Linked DNA regions of Homo sapiens: regions 1, 3, 4, 5, 6 and 7 are each linked to region 2. Evidence: promoter capture Hi-C in 16 types of primary human blood cells and fetal thymus (Javierre and others, 2016). All regions are on one chromosome and are shown on one strand. Each heading gives the region's core, a stretch centred on a gene start or on the middle of the fragment in contact. The rest is flanking DNA. Distances are from core to core; before and after follow the strand shown. Region 1 has its middle 24 kb from the start of LINC01038. Region 2 holds the start of SPRY2 (sprouty RTK signaling antagonist 2). Region 3 has its middle 89 kb from the start of LINC00377. Region 4 has its middle 130 kb from the start of LINC00377. Region 5 has its middle 7.2 kb from the start of LINC01038. Region 6 overlaps LOC124903241 (a long non-coding RNA gene). Region 7 has its middle 41 kb from the start of LINC01038.

What was found. The method cuts DNA at HindIII sites, captures the fragments that hold promoters and counts their contacts. A CHiCAGO score of 5 or more calls a contact.
Region 1: a contact is called between a fragment that was not itself captured here and the fragment with the promoter of SPRY2 in region 2, in 10 of 17 cell types (M2 macrophages, M0 macrophages, M1 macrophages and 7 more). The highest score is 26.7, in M2 macrophages.
Region 3: a fragment that was not itself captured here is called in contact with the fragment with the promoter of SPRY2 in region 2 in 3 of 17 cell types (endothelial precursors, erythroblasts and naive B cells); the score reaches 8.5 in endothelial precursors.
Region 4: a fragment that was not itself captured here is called in contact with the fragment with the promoter of SPRY2 in region 2 in 1 of 17 cell types (naive B cells); the score reaches 8.2 in naive B cells.
Region 5: a fragment that was not itself captured here is called in contact with the fragment with the promoter of SPRY2 in region 2 in 7 of 17 cell types (monocytes, M2 macrophages, M0 macrophages and 4 more); the score reaches 8.9 in monocytes.
Region 6: a fragment that was not itself captured here is called in contact with the fragment with the promoter of SPRY2 in region 2 in 2 of 17 cell types (naive B cells and megakaryocytes); the score reaches 7.1 in naive B cells.
Region 7: a contact is called between a fragment that was not itself captured here and the fragment with the promoter of SPRY2 in region 2, in 5 of 17 cell types (M0 macrophages, M2 macrophages, M1 macrophages and 2 more). The highest score is 10.4, in M0 macrophages.

What each region holds. Positions count from the first base shown.
Region 1 is chr13:79,779,237-79,781,936 of GRCh38, reverse strand. No RefSeq gene overlaps it. Among named protein-coding and RNA genes, the nearest start is that of LINC01038, 24 kb to the left of the region's middle. The HindIII fragment of the contact is 4,415 bases long and covers 1-2,700 here.
Region 2 is chr13:80,339,760-80,342,459 of GRCh38, reverse strand. SPRY2 (sprouty RTK signaling antagonist 2) reads left to right here and starts at 1,334. Exons shown (of 2, transcript NM_005842.4): 1 at 1,334-1,838. RefSeq lists silencers at 917-966, 1,197-1,386. The HindIII fragment of the contact is 9,098 bases long and covers 1-2,700 here.
Region 3 is chr13:80,927,927-80,930,626 of GRCh38, reverse strand. No RefSeq gene overlaps it. Among named protein-coding and RNA genes, the nearest start is that of LINC00377, 89 kb to the left of the region's middle. The HindIII fragment of the contact is 2,222 bases long and covers 151-2,372 here.
Region 4 is chr13:80,884,502-80,887,201 of GRCh38, reverse strand. No RefSeq gene overlaps it. Among named protein-coding and RNA genes, the nearest start is that of LINC00377, 130 kb to the left of the region's middle. The HindIII fragment of the contact is 1,980 bases long and covers 433-2,412 here.
Region 5 is chr13:79,795,878-79,798,577 of GRCh38, reverse strand. No RefSeq gene overlaps it. Among named protein-coding and RNA genes, the nearest start is that of LINC01038, 7.2 kb to the left of the region's middle. The HindIII fragment of the contact is 3,823 bases long and covers 1-2,700 here.
Region 6 is chr13:80,909,303-80,912,002 of GRCh38, reverse strand. It overlaps LOC124903241 (a long non-coding RNA gene), which reads right to left. Exons shown (of 4, transcript XR_007063927.1): 4 at 276-2,700. Among named protein-coding and RNA genes, the nearest start is that of LINC00377, 110 kb to the left of the region's middle. The HindIII fragment of the contact is 976 bases long and covers 901-1,876 here.
Region 7 is chr13:79,761,705-79,764,404 of GRCh38, reverse strand. No RefSeq gene overlaps it. Among named protein-coding and RNA genes, the nearest start is that of LINC01038, 41 kb to the left of the region's middle. The HindIII fragment of the contact is 6,861 bases long and covers 1-2,700 here.

The DNA.
Region 1 (2,700 bases), core at 10-2,509, 560 kb after region 2:
ACATTTTTAAGTGCAAAGAAGACTAGTGATCTAAGGAAATTTAGAGTGGGAGACACGCATTCTTTAAAGCACTTCAGTTTTTAAAATATTCATACACTGATTTCTTTTAGGCACCAATTCTTGTAAGAAGGCCTTTAACTTATATGGAAAGAAAAATGGAGATGTCATTTATTGGATACTTATAGTGTGTCAGGCACTGAGCATGACACTTCAATTTAAAAGGAATGTATATAAAAACATGTATATATAAACAGCAATGTAATGTACAATAAGTCTATGAAGCCTTTTTTACCAACTAGGACCCTCAGTTGTGGAGAGTTTATATCAACTACCCAAGGCCATAAATGATGGCTACATTTTAAAAGGAAGAGCATTTCTTTTTTTTACTCTGCCTGCACTTTATATTTTGCCATATTGCCTCTCAGGCTGGGCCATATCACCCTGACCTGTTAGTAAAGTCTGATAAAAAATGAACAAATTATTACTAATTCAGAATGTTCAGTGCTGTATATAAGTCTGTGTATGTGTATGTATATATATATACACACAGTAATAATGCATCCTGGAGAGTGTGTGTGTATATATATACATGCACAGTAATAATGCATCCATATATACATTACATATAATATATATTATATATAATATATGTATATATGTATATATATAATGTGTGTATATATGTATATCTATATAATATGTATATATATATAATATAATATATATATATGGGGCTGGGGTTAAGAAAGATATATATTATTACTAAATAATCCAGAAATACTCAAGAAAAGTGCCATAGTTGATTTCCATGAAGTCTGAATTTCCATTAGATTTAATGGAGGTGACTCTGGGGTATGTTATATTTATATCCCATAATTTAAGTAGCACCCCAGGGATATGTATCTTTATAGCACCCCAGGATGAGATTACAATGGATGAGAAATAAAAAAGGGAGAGTAAGGTCTGGAAAAGGTCCTTGGTTGGAATCTATAGACAGTGTCTTCTCTCCCCTTGCTCTGTACCTAGCCACTTCACTTCTCTATGCAAGTTTGGGAAGAGCCTGTCACATCACAGTAGAGATCTAAAGGGGTTCTGTCCAGAAAAACTATGCTAAAATATGACAACTCATATCTACTTAAAGGGCATTGGCAAATGGTTGGTCTTTGAAAACTTCATCTCTTTACGCCTTCACCCCAAGTTCTGAACATCTCCAAGTCGCTTCTGAGTCTTGTTTTTCCAGCAGGGAGGAGGTGACAGCAGCAGTCTGACTCATCTGGAACCACTGTCTCTTCCCTGGCACCCAGAAATGTGCCTGTCTTCTTAATAGTATCCAATAGCATAATATGGTAAAAAAATGGGCATCCACCAGGAGCCTATAGCACTTCCTCCCACTGAGGGTCAAACACAGACACACATCTCTGAGCCTTCTAAGCAGCTCAGACCTGCACTCTTGCCTGTGTTCCTCTGCCTTTGAATTCACTGGATCTTAGTAGTGACTTAGTAGTTACTCAGTAGTTACCAAAACAGTGCAAAACCATCGCAGTTTCTATGTAAAACAAAACAGAAACCTCATTCTCCGGAGCACACGTGCACTTAACCTAAGTTTGGCATTTGATAGACTTTTCTGCATTTTGTTCTTTTCTGCCTCTCCTACATGGGCTCTCATATCTTTTGTCTTTTTTTTCTTTTTTTTTCTGAAAAGGTTTTGACTTAAAACTGAAAATATTCTAAGTGACAAGTAAGTAGCCCCTTCTCAAATAGAACCTGCAATAACATGCCTGGATTACATTAAGGAATGCTGGAGGGGATCCCAAAAACCAGTGTTTGAACAGTCAACCTGACAAAATCCTAGGACACCATTGAAAGAGCTCCTGTTACCTAACTGACTTAGAGCTGATCAGTGTAATCCTCATGATAATGCATTGTCTGACTCCAGGAACCTGTTGCAATAGCCAGCGGGAGGAGGAGGAACAGAGAGCCCTCTGGGAGTGTCCAAACCTCTGCCACAGTAATGAGACATGAACTGCCTTTTCCTCTGGCTCTGCTTTTGAGCAATGTGGACCAAGAAGTTTCAAAGAGTGAGATAACTTAGATTTATTAAGGAAAGTAAGCTGAACATGGAGACAAAAACAGAGAAAACCACAGAAAGAGACCAATAGCTAATGCCCAAATCCCAGGAAGCAGAGCAGTGAGAGTGAATTTCTTGGCAGGAAAACCAGATTGGTCTAGAAAGAAGTTTTGGGAAAATGTTTGAATCAGTCTCAACAGAATGAAAATGTTTCTAAATGAGCCCTTTGACTGGTTTTCTCTTGGACAAGGTGAAGACCAAATGAAGGAAGGATGAAGGTGGGATGTTTAAGTCTTTTAAAGATAACAAACTTTCCTGTGGCTAGTTAGCCCATTTCTGAGAGTTTATCTCAAGATTCTTCAAAGCATAAGAATGCAAGAGTAGACTTGCACTGGGTCTGTCACCTCCCAAATCTAGGTTGAATGAGGAGGTAGCACAATTCCTGTCTCAGCACCAAAAACTTAGTACCAACAACTGTGACTTTTGTCAAATCTCCTTCCAACTCAGTAAAAAATTCCCCACTATTTGTGATCAACAGTTTTTAAAAATAACACTTCTGTTGTGGCTTCTTTTTTGAAACTGTTTACTCAGAAAGAAAGGTACATATATTTACACTCTGACTGTACTTCATT
Region 2 (2,700 bases), core at 85-2,584:
CCACTGGTGCTCCCACGTGAAGGCACATTTCTTAGTAAATGAACGGCAGCTAGGACAGTGCATATGTATGCATTTTCTATCTTTATTTTTTTTTTGTAAATGGGAAAGAATAGTGCACCTTCAACATGGACAACAGAATCTTGAGAAATGTTCTAGGTGGCAAGAAAAGTGGGAAATGAAGGATGACTTTTAGTTAAGGGAAGAAGGAAATCTGCAGTGAGCCAACCCTTCCCTCCCCCCCGCCCCCCCATTTCGGAAGCCCATGCTGTCGCCCTGAGTAATCTTGTTCCTGTCTATTAATGAATTAAGTTAAAAGGCTTAGACTGTAGACTTTAGCTACTGCATGAAGCAAAATAGTAAGGAAGCTCTTCAAAAAGCCTCCATTCATAGATAACCCCCCTTAAAAATGAAATTCTAATAAACGGAAAAACTACAAGTCGACACAATCAAAAGCAAATCCCAGCAAGAGCAGAAGGTACTTGAAACTCGAATCTGCATTCCGTTCCTCCCGTACAAGGCTCGGAGGTGGGGGAGGCGGTTTGTGCTGGTGCCTGGTGTATAATCGGGTTAATCCAGTAGACAAAGAATAAACCAATAGCCCTCCCACCTCACTTCCCGCTCCCCTTCCCCTCCCCCTTCTTCTCCCCCCGCCCCAGCCCCCGTCACCCGCTCCGCAAAGGGGAACAGAAAAGGGGAGAGGTAGACTTGAAATGGATTCTGGATAAAGTCTTAAAACCTGCAACTTGTTTTTCATGCTAACACTGCGTGGCCCAGATTAGTCTTAAATGTTCATTCCCCTTTCCTGGTGGCAAGGAGAAAGTTCCCTAAGTCAGCTCGAGCCTCTGGCTCGTCCTCATTGCCTCTGGGCAAACCTTAAGGTCAGTGTTTCCTTGAAACTAGATAAACTGACCCTGCAGTGCCCAGCCCGGCCCCGCGGGCGCCCCGCGTGACGGCGCTCGGGCGGCAGGACCGGCCTGGGGACGCGCGGGGCGGCGCGGTTGCCCTTTTGAATGCCTCCTGCGGCTCGGAGCGCTGGCGGGCGCTGGAGTGTGAGTGAATGTAGCCCCGCGGAGCCAATGAGCTGGGACCGGATGCGATATATCCTCTGGGACAACAACTGCTCTGTTCCGCCTCGGATCCACATGACGCCATTTACTGCTGCCGCGGCCGCCGCAGAGCTCCCTGCCTCCTCCGGAAAGGCGAGGGCGCAGGCCAACGGCGAGCCCCCCCCGGGCGGGCCCCAGACCCTCCTCCTCCTCCTCCTCCTCCTCTTCCTCCTCCTCCGCACCCACCGCCCCCGCCTCGGCCTCGCTGCCTCGCCTCCACAACGCCCAGTCTGCACCGCCGAGAGCTGCGCGCCGCAGCGCTAGCGGAGGAGAGGGGCCGGCGGAGCGCGCAGCGCCCAGGCCCCCGCGCCCGCCCGGCCCGGCCCGGCCCGCGCCCCCGCGCCGCCTCCGCTACGACGCGGCCCCGGCCGCACCACTTGGCGATCTGGCTTTAGGTTCTCCGTAAGGCCGTTTTCTTTTCCCATTCGCTCATCTGCCAGGAAAAGGGACTTGCCGTTGGCGCTTCGGCCTCTTGTTCATTGAGAAAAAAGAGGAAATACTCCGCGTGCGCTTGTAGAAGGGGAGTCGTCTCCAGCTCCGAACCCCGGAGTGTTCATCAGCGGGGAATCTGGCTCCGAATTCTCTTTTTTTCTCCCGCCGATTGCTCGGAAGTTGGTCTAAAGCAGAGGTTGGAAAGAAAGGAAAAAAGTTTGCATCGAGACTGGATTTATTTGCACATCGCAGAAAGAAGAGAATCCAAGGGAGAGGGGTTGGTGCAAAGCCGCGATCACGGTGAGGCACGTTTGGCTCTTCCCCTCCTGGCGCCGCGGCCGGCGCGTTGTGGGCAACATGGAGTAGGTGCAGCCGGACCAGGAGTTGGGTCCGTCTCTCCCCGAGCCTCCCTTTCTCAAATCCCGCAGGGTCTTCGCGAGGATCCGGGGCGCTCCCCGCGGACCTGCCTCGCCCGGGGCTTGGGCTCGGCCTGCCTCTGCGGGGACTTCTGTATGCACCCCGTGCAGTGTCCCCGACAGGCGACCCCGCGCGCCCGCGCTCTAGGGGGTTGGGACGGAGGACAGCTAGCCTGAAGTCTGCTCCCAGCCGTGCACTGGCCGCGAATTCGGCGCTGAGAGCGGGAGAGGGAGAGAAAAACACTTTGTATTTTCCAGGTTGCCTTTGCAGGCGCCCGCATTTCTAACCTGTTCTTCCTCTTGGTGGAAGGCAAAGTCCAGGGAGAGGCTGTCCCTAGGCGGGGCGCTGGTGGGGCTGGGGGACACAGGTTGCCCGCCTCGGGGGCAGGAGACTTCCAGGGTGAGAAAAAGGCAGGGTGCCGGGTGGAGGGAGTGCCCGCCTCTGCTCCGTGTGGACAGTCTAGCCCGGAGCGGGTGGGAGCGTCGCCCTGCCTGGCGCCGGGTCTCTGCGGTTCGGAAGTGCAGCTCTCTCTCTTCCGTTCTTCGTGGTCAGCCTGGGTCACACTTATTTTATTTTTGGAAGCTCGGGCTGACCCAGCGCAGGAAGAAAGTCATCAAGCGGTCGCGATCATTTTCCATTACCTGAAAGTAGGTGGCAAAATAGGCAATTTTTTATTTCCTTTTGTTGTTGTTGTTGCTGTGTTTTAATTTGGATTCTTGTGTGTTTTTTACAAAGCAGTTTCTGT
Region 3 (2,700 bases), core at 12-2,511, 590 kb before region 2:
CTTCTAGTAAAAAATTCCATCAAAGGGTGGAAAAGTCTAGGACATAATTATATTTATTTTTATTATATCCAATTACTATCAATGGAAGAGTATGCCACTTTTTGTAGAAACCTAGTATTTTAAAGGCCTAACTTCCACAATATGAAAGCTTGCTATACGATAAAATTGTACTTATCAGGAAAATGTTATTTTCTAACTTCTCTCATTTTCTGTTAAAGACTTTTTTCCCCCATATAGGTTGAATGACTAGTGACGTTTGTGTTTTGGATCTTATTCTTGTTATTTCTCTGATGCTTCAACCAACTATTTGCTTTGTAATGCCTCTAATTTCCTGTATTACTCTAATAGGGATCTATTTCAACTTATACAAATTTTTAAATAACTTCAAATTTGGAAAGCTCTGTTATCAATCATATTGGCAATGTATAAGTTAAAATATCAACAGAAATAATGTTCAAGCACAAGTCAGTAACGAAACTTTTCTCCATATACGTACATTTTGCATTGCAAGATGCCATGGGGTTTGGAGTCAGAGCAGAATGACTCTGAAAATGGAATTGAAGTGAGTGCTTGTATACTCCTATGTATTATAAATTATTTTCCTCTTAAAATCAGACTCAATTGCAATCAAACATGATTCCAAAAATGTGATAAACTCAAGATAGTCAACAAAATCAAAGATTTTCACAGGCCAAAAGTATTTTTGTTTTGTTTTGTTATTCAATTATTATATTTTAAATTTCATTTTGGTTTTAACTTTTTATTCAACTAGTTTTAAACTTGAAACAATTTTAAATGAGGTAGAAGAATAATGCAAAGAATTCTCATATACCCTAATCAAGAGGCCTCATTAAAATTTTATCAACTGCCCAGTTCTACATTTTATAACTAAAGGATCCAATTTTCCAATTTTTATCTATTTTTAGTTTTTATTTATTTATTTATTTATTTTTGAACCCGGGCCTCGCTCTGTCACCCAGGCTGAGTGTAGTAGTGTAATCATGGTTTACTGTCACCTTGACTTCCCAGGCTCTGGTGATCCTCCTATTTCAGCCTCCTGAGTAGGTGGAACCACTGGTGCTTGATACCACGCCCTGCTAATTTTTTTATTTTTTTGTAGACACAGGGTTTTGTCATGTTGCTCAGTGCCTGGCTATTCTTTGCCTGGCTCATCCACATTTATTTATTTATTTGTCCTAGATTTGACCTGTGACAAGTTTGTGACACTCATCTCCAAGCATGGGAAGCCTAACCCCAAATACTGGCCATCTTTCCTGTATGTAGTGATGTGCTGGTCAGTGTTAATTTTAACAAAGGAAAAAATATAGTCTTGCATTAACATAATATTTAGTGGTAAAAGATTCCTAAGTCTTTATTAAAAATTTTCTGAATAAACCCATAAAAATTGAACAAGTTTGCCAGAAATTTTAATATACTTTATTGCTTTTCAGACCCAACTATTTTCAGTTATTATAGAATTTTATTTCCAATCTCTTTATGCAAAAAAAGGCTCACAACATCCCTGATTTTTAATCTTTGTCAATTTTCTGTAATATAAATATTCCCACCATAGCTGATTTCAGATTATCAACTTGAATTCATTGAAAGCACAGTTGGGAAGAGATACACACAACTGACTTCTCACAAGTCAGTGGAACCAGCTCCAGGCCACAACTAATCCATAATCAATCTCTTGACCTTTGGCTATGTACTCACCTTCTCAGGGGCTTTGACCCCATGATGTGCTGTAGTTGGCTCATTCAGGCTCACAGGAGCTGATTTTTAAGAATTTATAAATGATACAAGACAGTTATTGAATTGTCAGTAGCTTGAAATCAGCTATGATTGGTGTATTGACATTACAGAAATTGGCAAATGCTACAAATCAGTGCTTTTTTTCAGATAATCTGTTTACCAGCACAGCATCATTCTGACCTCTGCTGAATTCCCTTCCTCACTTGGAATTGCCTTCTTATTATTATTTTTCACTTAATTATTCAGGAAGGAATGAAGAGAGAGAGGGACAGAGGGAGGAAGTGAAGAAGGAAGTACAGCCATATCTATTTTTAAAAGGTTTTTATGGGAGCAGTCAAACTAAGTATGTGAAGTTTTATTTCTCATATTGTATCTAGTAGATAAATCGTCCCTCCCTTAGGCAGGTTGCTCTTAAATTACGTCATCTGAAGTATCCCAAACTTTTATACATGTCATATTTTCTTAAGTTCTTGCATAAATAGAGATTCTTTTCTATTTTAACAGTATATTTGGTCATTTCAATTTTAAGGTAAGCCAAGATTGCCATATATTTTTGTGCAAAGGATTTTGAAATTTATGTAGACGGATCTATAAATATTTTCCTTTTTTGAAAAGCTTATTGTGTATAATTCATAGCTTCACATACAAGATACAGTAACTTTTTTGGATTTTGTTTTCATAATACTTTGACCTTCTTCATGTGTGCATGTGTAGGTGTGCCTTTGTGTATGAGCTGACTTGTTTTCCAGGAACGTTAATAGAATAAAAATAACGCTAATAATAATAGCTGCTGTGTATTAAGTATGTCAAACTTGTCAATAAACAATTTTCTTAACAAGCCCTAGTACAGATACTTACAGCACGCAAATTTACTTAACTTGTACAATGTCAAATAAATAATAATTTTGACATTTATCATAAAAACCCAGGATTGTAAAGCAGCTA
Region 4 (2,700 bases), core at 173-2,672, 540 kb before region 2:
GTTCACTGATATTCTGTTCGTTTTTTAAAATCTTTTTTCTTTCTGTATTTCCTTTTGAATAGTTTCTATTGTTATGTCTTGAAATTTACTGTGCTTTTCTTCTGCAAAATGCTGTTAACTCTACTCACTGTATTTTTCTGTTAGGCATTGCAGATTGTTATCTGTTTTAGACTTGAGATGTTTTAGTTTTACCTCTTTCATGTCTGCACTTTACATGTCCAATCTGGCCTTTAGCTTCTCGAACATATTGAATACAATTGTAAAAACTATTCTTTCACTCTTTATTGACTCCATCCCCTTTTTTCCGAATCATTTTTAATTGATTTTTTTTCTCATTATGGCTTACATTTCCTTGCTTCTTTATATTAAGCTTCATAATTTCTATTAATAATTCATATTAAGCTTCATAATTTCTATTCTTTATATTAAGCTTCATAATTTCTATTACATGCATCATGAATTTTATCTTATTTGGGCCAGGATATTTTTTGATTCCTTTGTTCTACAAGGCATTTAAGTTAATTGGAAAGCGTTCACTCTTTGAGATCTCTTGTCTTAATGCTTTCCTAAGAAGAATGAGCATAGCCTTTTGTCAGGGTTAATGTTTTCCACTACTGAAGCATATTCTTCTGAGTATACTATCTGATATTCTGTGAATTATGAGGTTTTCTTCTCTAGATATTGGAAACTGGCACTACTGCTGGTCCTTTATAAGTCCGGGACACTGTCGCCTTTAATGATTTAAGGTGGTTGGTTTCCTTACACACATGTACTGATCAGCCTTCAATTGAACACTTGTGAGATAAATTCTCTGCAGTTCTCTCTCTTTGCTTTTCTTTCCTCTCCCATGCTTTTCTTTTCAAACTCTAGGTGTTTTGACTTCCCTGAGTTTTCGGATTCATTTTCTAAACTCAGGGAGACTGCCAGGTTCTCCCTGGGTCCTTGCTCTGCCCTAAGTTCCAGAAACGTGTAGGCTAGAGCAATCACAGAACTCACCTCATTTGTTTTCTGTCTCACTCACATAACTGCCATTGTTGCTTGAGGGGTAATGTCGAGATCCATTGCTTTATATTTTTTGTTTCTTATTTTCTTGTTTTAGTCATGAGGGTAAATCTTGTTTCTTCTACTCCATCTTGGCCCAAAGCAGAAATCTCATTATAATTTATTTGTATATGTATGTTTCTCCCAGTACACTGTAATCTCATTTTATTCGTCTTTGCCTAATACAGAATCTCACCTAATATTGAACTTGATAAGCATTTGTGAAACCGGACCTCTTTTGTTCATCAAAAAGGAATAGTAAATACATTTCAAGTTATATGGCAACTTGAAAGGTAGTAGAGACTTCTGTTGGAAAGGAAGCTCAAGTTGTTTTGAATCTAATGGGAAAAGATCTATATTAGAATAGTAATGTCTAAAAGATATGGCTTATAAACCATTGCTTTAGAGACTAGCACTTATATTTGAAAATTTGTCAAAATAATAAATACTATAATGCCTTAGAATAGGTGATAAATACTACACAATAACAAAGAGTTGACCATTCTGGGTGAGTTGCTAGCAAAAGTTATGAACATTACATTAATAATTCAAAGATTAGTCACATTGGGTAACACAGTATTAACCTAAACCAAACACATAAACAGGAACACCTCTAACAATTGGCATTTTACTATTGTCAGAATTTTAAAAATTCTAAAATTTCAACCAAATTTAAAAAGCATTTTGAAGAATTTAGATAATTTATCACTCTTTTTTTTTAGGAAAAGTGTTAATCTGCTCATTCCCAAGAGTTCGTTTGTGGCCCCATTGACCATCTCCATTCTGCTGTGCTCAGGAAGAAGGGAGGAATCTCCTCATTATACAAAGTCTATGTGAATAACTTCTCTATATCTTTCTTTAAGTTTGATATAGAGAAATACATAAATAAGGAACAGCAAGTGGTTATATGTCAGACATTTTCCTGAAGAATGTGCCCTTTAGTTCTAATCTAATCTTTCCCCAAATATAGAACTACATTTAGGTATATGCAGGATAATAAAGACATAATTTTACTTTTAAAGAAGAGTTCAAATGTATTACTGTTTAAATAACTTGATGGAGACTTGCATAATATCTGCCCTCTTTTCATCTCTTCCCATAAATTTGCAACAGTCTACTCCTTACTATATGTATATCTAAGAAATATCCAGTCTTAGAAAAGATACTTAACATTTTTTTCTAAGATAACAGAGTAAGCTGTAGGGAAACCCCACAATCATAAGTAGGCAAAAGCCTGCAAATGTCTATTGACTTATGAAAGACAACGCCTTGGCAAGAAATGCCTTGTAATCATAGACCTTTAGCTGTTAGAGAAGATAGAGGAAACGAAGACATAATCAGTTTTAGGGTAGCCCCCTGAGCACACAAGCTTAATAAATATGAACCTTAGAAACAATGATCATTGCACAATTTGCCTGTGATCAGACTTGGGGGTGTATATGAATCCTAAACACTTGGTTTCTATGTGACAATAAAAACACAGAACTGCTCTGGAATCAATTAAACTAGAATTCACACTCTTTTGTGACAGGTAGTGTACTATTCAGTGCCAGTGGAGGCAGATGGAGCATAGTTTCTGCTCAAAAATATGCAATCTGTTAAAATCTTTTTATAGTATGAGAAAAAAAGCCTTTGCCTTGCTCTTAAAACTAATTTAAA
Region 5 (2,700 bases), core at 187-2,686, 540 kb after region 2:
ATAAATAGCCATGTACTCGATAATATTACAGTGGTGGTAGTAAGAGTACTAGTAGTAATAATACTGACAATAATATAGCTACTAGCTATTGAACTTTTGCCAAGTCCAGGCACTAATGTAAATGTGCTTTGTTTTGTTTTTGAGACAGGGTCTCATTCTGTCACCCAGATTGTAGTGCAGTGGTGCAATGTCAGCTCACTGCAAACTTTGCCTCCTGGGCTCAAACTATCCTCCCATCTCAGCCTCCTGAGTAGTTAGGACTACAGGTGTGCATCACCACATCCAGTGAATTTTTTAAATTTTCTTTTTGTAGAGACAAGATCTCACTATATTGTCCTGTCTGGTCTCAAACTCCTGGACTCAAGCAATCTGCCTGTCTTGGCCTCCCAAAGTGTTGAGATTACAGGTGTAAGCCTGTAAATGTGCTTTGAACTAGGTACTTTGTCTCATTTGATCCTGATAATAGTCCTGTGAGAGAGACCTTGTTATTTCCCAGATTATAGATCAGGGAACTGAGGTGTAAGGTGATTGAACAATGGGCTAAGGACAAATAGGTAATAATACAGAATCCAAATAATCTGCTTATAACCACTAAACTATTTTAACTGAGTTCAGGGAGCACATTGTCATTTCAATGGAATTTTATTGGAAAGCTCAACACTATTTTTGTTTGAGCAGCATGATTTCTTTTACAGATTCCCTCCTCTTCTTACCTCCCTTCTCTTCTAGGAGTTAATTCTATTATATTAAATTGCTCTGGGAAATTGTTAATGATCCTGTATTCAAGGACTCTAAAATAGAAGGAATGGGGATGGAAGACTTTGATTCTGGGAATGCACTGCAGTCAAAAACAGAGATAGGAGCCAGAAAGTATTCCTGAAGTGCCCTTGTTCATTTCCATGTGCCTGAGCAATCCCCAGAAAAATTATTGCTGCTCCTAATTCCCAACCTTTGGGTCATCCTCAAATCCCTTGCAATAGAGTGGAGTATCATTCCTTCAGTTCCACAAAATATTTAGGAATTTTCCATAAGAAATTCATCCTTACAGAAGCAGCCTTTATGATCTGCTCTGTAGATTTCATCCCAGAAAACCCTACTGTATTTTGATGTCTTGCGGAGGGTGCCACAAAAACAGCACTCCAGCTAGCGCTCAGGAATCAAAACTTCCCTTCCTGAAGTTCATATGGCCATAGCGCCAAGAAAAAAAGGAGATATTTGTATATATGTCTTTCTTCTATATCATGACAGTATATTTTATTCTACCCAGTGGGAACCAAAGAGGCAAAACCAATCCAAATATTATTTTAGAGCTAAATATGTGCTTATGTATCTATTTTATACAAAGGGGTTATGAACGCTTCTAATGTCATTTCTTAATCAACTGGAACTTGAGCCTTTAGTACTTACAATCAAATTGCATAATTTTAAACAAACTGTACACTTAAAATTTTTGCAATTTCATGGTTAAAATGACTCTTTAATAGGAGGACTGTGGACTCATAGCAGAGGTATCTTCTGGATACCTATATGGGTGTCATTTTTGAGAATTAGAGGCAGAATTGGAGTGCATCATTTTTTTTAAAGTCTTTTCACAAAATTCTTTCTAAAGCCATCCCCGTTTTCTTCCATGAACATCTCTTTAGCTGCATAGTCAAGGTAATCATTCACTGCAGAATTCTATGAACAGCATAGTTTCAAATATTCTTTTTCATAGGCACACTGAGCACAGTCAGGCTACTCAAACTGTGTCTTGATTTGAGGTTTGGAAACATGGCCACAAGACACCTATGTAACAATTGAGCAGCACTCGTTGAACATGTTGCCATCTCAATCATGGTATCACACAGTATTCTGAAGGAAGCAGGACAAGACTGATCAGTCTATAAGGGAGTTCACACCACAGAAGCAAGTGATCCTGCTTAAAATACTTCCTTCACTAAGGGAAGACAATTCAGGTAAATATTTGCATGGCGAACAATTTACATTCTTCCTTTCCTATAAATGTCTCTACCTTTCATCAAAGATCCACTTGTCACCTACACAAATTGCAGGTGTTGAAGCCAGATCTGTGACCCTGAAGAGCATCTTTGCCATTTCCGAATGACCTATGCATCCAAAAATGTGCCCTATGTCTATAAACAGTTGAGCTTCTGAAATTTTCTCTAAGGAACACAAAGCATATGCCATGCAGCTGGCTCACATATCACCCGTAGTGTCAGACAACTGCTCTCTGAAGTGCTCTGGTTTTCTGATCAGGAGACATCTGTCATGCTGGTCACACAGTGGGGAAAGCATGGAGCTGGGATGCCAGTGATTGGGGTCTGGGCCTCACTTGGCCACCAGGATGTGTGGGTGTGGGTGTAGGCTAGTTCCATTGTTTCTCAGCCTCTACTTCCTCACTTGAAAGGTGAGAGTTTGATTACATGAGCTTTAAAGTCCTTATCCAATTCAAAACACTTGGGATTATTTAATTTTACAACCAAACAGGATAATGGTAACTTACTTCACTCTACTCTGAGAGCATTTTTGTGGAATTCTATTAGTTAGTAGATACCTTAAAGAATATATCTTTTAAGAAAATTTTTTGTAACTTTTTACTTGGAAAATTGAGCATACATCCACCCTCCAACAAATGAATGATACATTATGAACATCTTAAACTACTGTGTACTTTTTAAAATACACAAGCCATTGGCCAGT
Region 6 (2,700 bases), core at 139-2,638, 570 kb before region 2:
GATAAGTTCATGTCCTTTGCAGGGACATGGATGAAGCTGGAAACCATTATTCTCAGCAAACTAACACAGAAACAGAAAACCAAACACTATGTTTTCACTCATAAGTGGGAGATGAACAATGAGAACACATGGATACGGGGAGCAGAACATCACACACCAGGGCCTGTCAGGGGTTGGAGGCTAGGGGGAGGGATAGCATTAGGAGAAATACCTAATGTAGATGACGGGTTGATGGGTGCAGCAAACCACCACAGCACATGTATACCTATGTAACAAACCTGCACATTCTGTACATGTATCCCAGAAGTTAAAGCATAATAATAAAAAAAAAATGAAACGAAATGGCTTTGCATATTTGACAGATATGTGCCAGGCACTGGAAATATACAGTCTGACTACAGTTTTGAAAGAATACAATTTCTAATCTCATACTTTTTGAAATGAAAAGTGTTTACGCTGGATGAAATTTCTTCCTGATACAAAATAATCTATATTACTTTTAACACACTTAATTGTTGTGAGAAAATCCTTCCTTGTTTTTCTGTATTCTAATGACATTTATAGGAGAAGTTATGGTTAATAAAAATGGTAAACATTTTTGAGCACTTAGTCTTGTATTACATATACATAGGTTATACATGAGCATGTATTATTTCATTTCAACTTCTAAAATCCCCTATGAGATAGACATTGTTGTTGTCTCCGTTTTACAAATTTGGAAACTAAGGCTGAAAATCATGAAGATACTGATTCTTGATGACACAGTAATAGGTTCATCTTATATAAGAAACACTCCTCCTCATCAGAACCCTAGCTTTTAACCACTTCACTTCTGTTTTCACATCTATTTTTTGATGTATTTATTGTTATTGTTATATTGTGTTTCTTTGCAAACAAGCTTAATTTCTGCCACCACAGACCATTAGTTCATTGTGTCAGCCTACTACATGGCAAAAATGGAGCTAAGTGCAATGCCCAACAATGCTTAAGATAAAACCTGCCTGTGCACCTTCTGAGTGGGGGAAAAGGCAAGCATAAAGACAATCGTGACTGATACAAGTTCTTATGGGCTACATTTGTCCCGGTCTATCAGAGGGCACAAAATCCAGACTTAGATAGGTTCAGAATGGCTTAATGGAGGAATGATGTCTAAAGTAACACATGAGAAAAGAGTTGGCATTTTCCAGAACTCCTACTTATGCAGCATGCAGAGAGTTTCCCTCCACACATATAACCTGTCTTATAAATTATTTCATTTATTATTTCTTCATTTGTACCTCTTTGGTACATTTGTGACCTAATATAAGGCTTGATTTCCAGAAGTCAACATTAATTTCAACTCTCTCTCTTCCAAAATGTAATCTCAGTCTGCAAGAGTCCCTGTTATAAGGGAGTAATACAATGTTGTGAATACATACCCCTCTTGCCTGCGTCCCCTTTCCCTAGAATCTCTCCCTAACTTGTTTCTTCTTCTCTCTTAAACCTCTTAAACAGACTCAACATTCCATTTCCTATGTCCATGCAGACATGTTCAAAATGAAGTTCAAAATGATTTACCAAACCTATTTTTGAATGTCATGTGATTCAAGCCCCATATTGTGCAATATTACCAGAATAATAGATTAAAATATAAATATCTTAGTGCCGTGTCAATTCTCTGCACATATGTTAAAAGCTACTTTCGAAGATATATTCTATCACTTTATTTTTTTTCCTATAACCTTGGATGGAGCCATTGTTGTCTCCCATGGAAAATCCATTCAACATTTCTTTATGTTCCTGATGCACTAATAACGAATTTTATTTTCCTCATTCTAACACATTTAGTGAAATTATCCCATTATCCCTTAATGCATGTCAAAATCCCTCTGAAGCTTTCTACAAAAGTAAAGTTAAAGCTAAAAAGGATCTTAAAGTGCATTTAGACTAGATTATTTTTATTTTAGGCTAGTATATTTTATTTTGCAGATGAGGACAGTGTGATTTAAAAATTAAATAATTTATTCATAGTCCCAAAGCTTTTACATGGCAGACCTAGAGCTGAAAGTAACTTCTGGATTTTCTTATATAGTAAAATATTCATTACACCACCTGCCTACTTACTACTGGAACTTGTTCCCAACTTGTGAAATAAAGAGAAGGATTAAGGTTTCTCACATACAGTTCCTGGATTTCTATCTCACTGACAATATTTTTAATGCAATACTTTTGGCTCTATATTTAATTCTTATGGGAAGTTATCTGTGGATAACATCTGGTCAACTAAACACGAAATAAAAAACAAAAAAAGGAATAAATAATCTTGCAATTTACAATGACATTTTAAGACAACACTGGACATAAATAATTGTTTTCTTGCAGTTTTTTTCAGAATCTTGATTCCATTTAATAGGTTTAGAGAAAGTGAATGTGTGGTACACATTTTAGACTATGTTAATATTCATAAACTATTGCAATTACCTTTTGAGTACTTTTTCTTATTATAATAATGTGCCTAAATTTACTATAATTTACTTTACTTTCAAACTCACATGTGTTTAAAACATTTCCTCAGAATAATAAGAAAACTGAATTGAGAGGTATTATATATTGTTAGATAAGTCACTAACTTTTCTCAGTCTGAGTGTATTAGTTCTCACATTGCTATAAAGACATACCTGAGACTGGGTAATTTATAAAGAAAAATGGTTTAATCTGCTC
Region 7 (2,700 bases), core at 87-2,586, 580 kb after region 2:
GTAAGCCGAAATTGTGCCATTGCACTCCAGCCTGGGCAACAAGAGTGAAACTCTATGTCAAAAAAAAACAAACAAAAGAACAAACAAACAAACAAAAACCCACTAATTTCAGCTGCAATTCAGTTGACACACTAAACAATGCATCAGAGTCTCTCAACAGCAGAACTGATCAAGCAGAAGAAAGAATTGGTGAGCTTGAAAGCAAGCTATTTGAAAATACATGGTCAGAGGAAATGAAAGAAAAAAGAATAAAAATGAATGAAGCATACCTACAAGTTCTAGAAAATAGCCTCAAAAGTGCAAATCTAAGAGTTATTAGCCTTAAAGAGGAGGAAGAGAGACAGACTGGGGTAAAAATTTTATTTGATTGAATAACAGATAACTTTCCAAAATGAGAGAAAGATATCAACACTAAAGTACAAGATGGTTGTAGAATACTAAGCAGATTTAACCCAAATAATACTATCAAGACAATGAATAATCAAACTCCCAAAGTTCAAAGATAAAGGGTCCTAAAAGCAGCAAGAGAAAAAAAACAAATAGCATACAATGGAATGCCAATGTCTGGCAGCAGGCTTCTCAGTGGAAACCTCCCAGGCCAAGAGAGAGTGGCAAGACATATTTAAAGTGCTAAAGGAAGAAAAAAAAATTTATCATAGAATAGCACATCCAGCAACAATATCCTTTAAACATGAAGAAGAAATAGACTTTCCTAGTCAAACAAAAGCTGAGGGATTTCATCAATACCAGAATTGTCTTACAAGAAATGCTAAAGGGAGTTCTTCAATCTGAAAGAAAACATTAACAAACAATAAGAGATCATGTGAAGGTACAAAACTCATTGGCAATAGTGAATACACAGACAAACATAGAATATTATAACCCTGAAATTGTGGTGTGTAAACTACTCATATCTTGAGTAGAAAGACTAAAAGATGAACCTATCAAAAATAGTAATTATGACAACTTTTCAAGACCTAGACAATATAACAAGATATAAATAGAAACAAAGTTAAAGTGAGTGTGATGAGATTAAAGTATATAGTTTTTGTTAGTTTTATCTTAGTTTTTGCAATCAGTGTTAAGTTGTCATCGGTTTGAAATAATGGGTTATAAGATGTTATTTGTAAGCCTCATGGTAACCTCAAATCCAAAAACCTACAACAAATACACGCAAAAAAAATAAAAATTAAAAAATTAAGACATACCACCTGGAAAAATTGCCTTCACTAAAAGGAAGATGGACGGTAAGAAGGAAGGAAGGAAGGAAGGACCACAAAATAAAAAAAAAACCAGTATCAAATATCAAAATGGCAGGAGTAAGTCCTTACTTATCAATAACATTGAATGTAAATGAACTAAACTCTCTAATCAAAAGAGTGGCTGAAGGGATTAAAAAAAACAAGATCCAATGATCTGTGGCCTACAAGAAACACACTTCACCTATAAAGACACACATAGACTGCAAATAAAGGCATGGGAAAAAGATATCCCACACAAATGGAAACAAAAAAGAGCAGGAGTAGCTATACTTATATAGGATAAAATAGATTTCAAGACATAAACTATAAAAAGACACAAAGATGGTCATTATATAATAACAAAGGGGTCAATTTAGCAATAGGATACAATTATAAATACATCTACATAAATATTAAAGAAAATAAATAATAAAGGTCAGAGCAGAAATGTATGAAATTGAAATGAAATAAACAAAAATATTTATAATTGTTACATATATATACACACATACATATATATATGCACACAAACACACACACACACACACGTACATCCAACACTGCAGCACCTAAATATATAAAGCAATATTATTGGAGCTATAAGGAGAGATAGGCCCCCAGTAAAATAGCTGGAGATTTCAACACCCCACTTTCAGCATTGGACAGAATTTCCAGACATAAAATCAACAAAGAAACATTGGACTTAATCTATACAATAGACCAAATGGATCTAATACATATTTACAAAACACTTCATCCAATGGCTGCAGAATACACATTTTTCTCCTTAGCACATGAATCATTCTTGAGGACGGACCACATGTTAGGCCACAAAACTCAACTTAAAACATTTTAAAAAATTAAAATCATATCACATATCTTCTCTGACTACAACAGAACAAGAAATCAATAGCAAGAACAAGTATACAAACACGTGAAAATTGAATAAGATGCTCCTGAACAACCAGTGAGTCAATAAAAAAATTAAAATTTAAAATTTAAAATTTCTTGGAAAAGAATGAAAATGGAAAATGGAAACACAACATACCAAAACCTATAGGATACAGTGAAAGCAATACTAGAGGAAAGCAATAAGAGCCTACATCAAAAAAGAAGAAAAACATCAAATAACTAATCTAAAAATGTGTCTTAAAGAACTAGAAAAGAGAATGAAACCCAAAATTAGTAGAAATAAATAATAAAGATCAAAGCAGAAATACATGAAATTGAAATGAAATAAATATAAAAGATCAACAAAAATGAAAAGTTGATTTTTTGAAAAGATAAACAAAATTGACAACCCTTTAGACAGAAAGAGAGAGCCAACCCAAATACGTAAAATCAGAGATGAAAAAGGAGACATTACAACTGATACTGCAGAAATTCAAAGGATCATTAGGGACTACTATGAGCAACTATATACCAATAGCTTAAAAAACCTAGAAGAAATTGATAAATT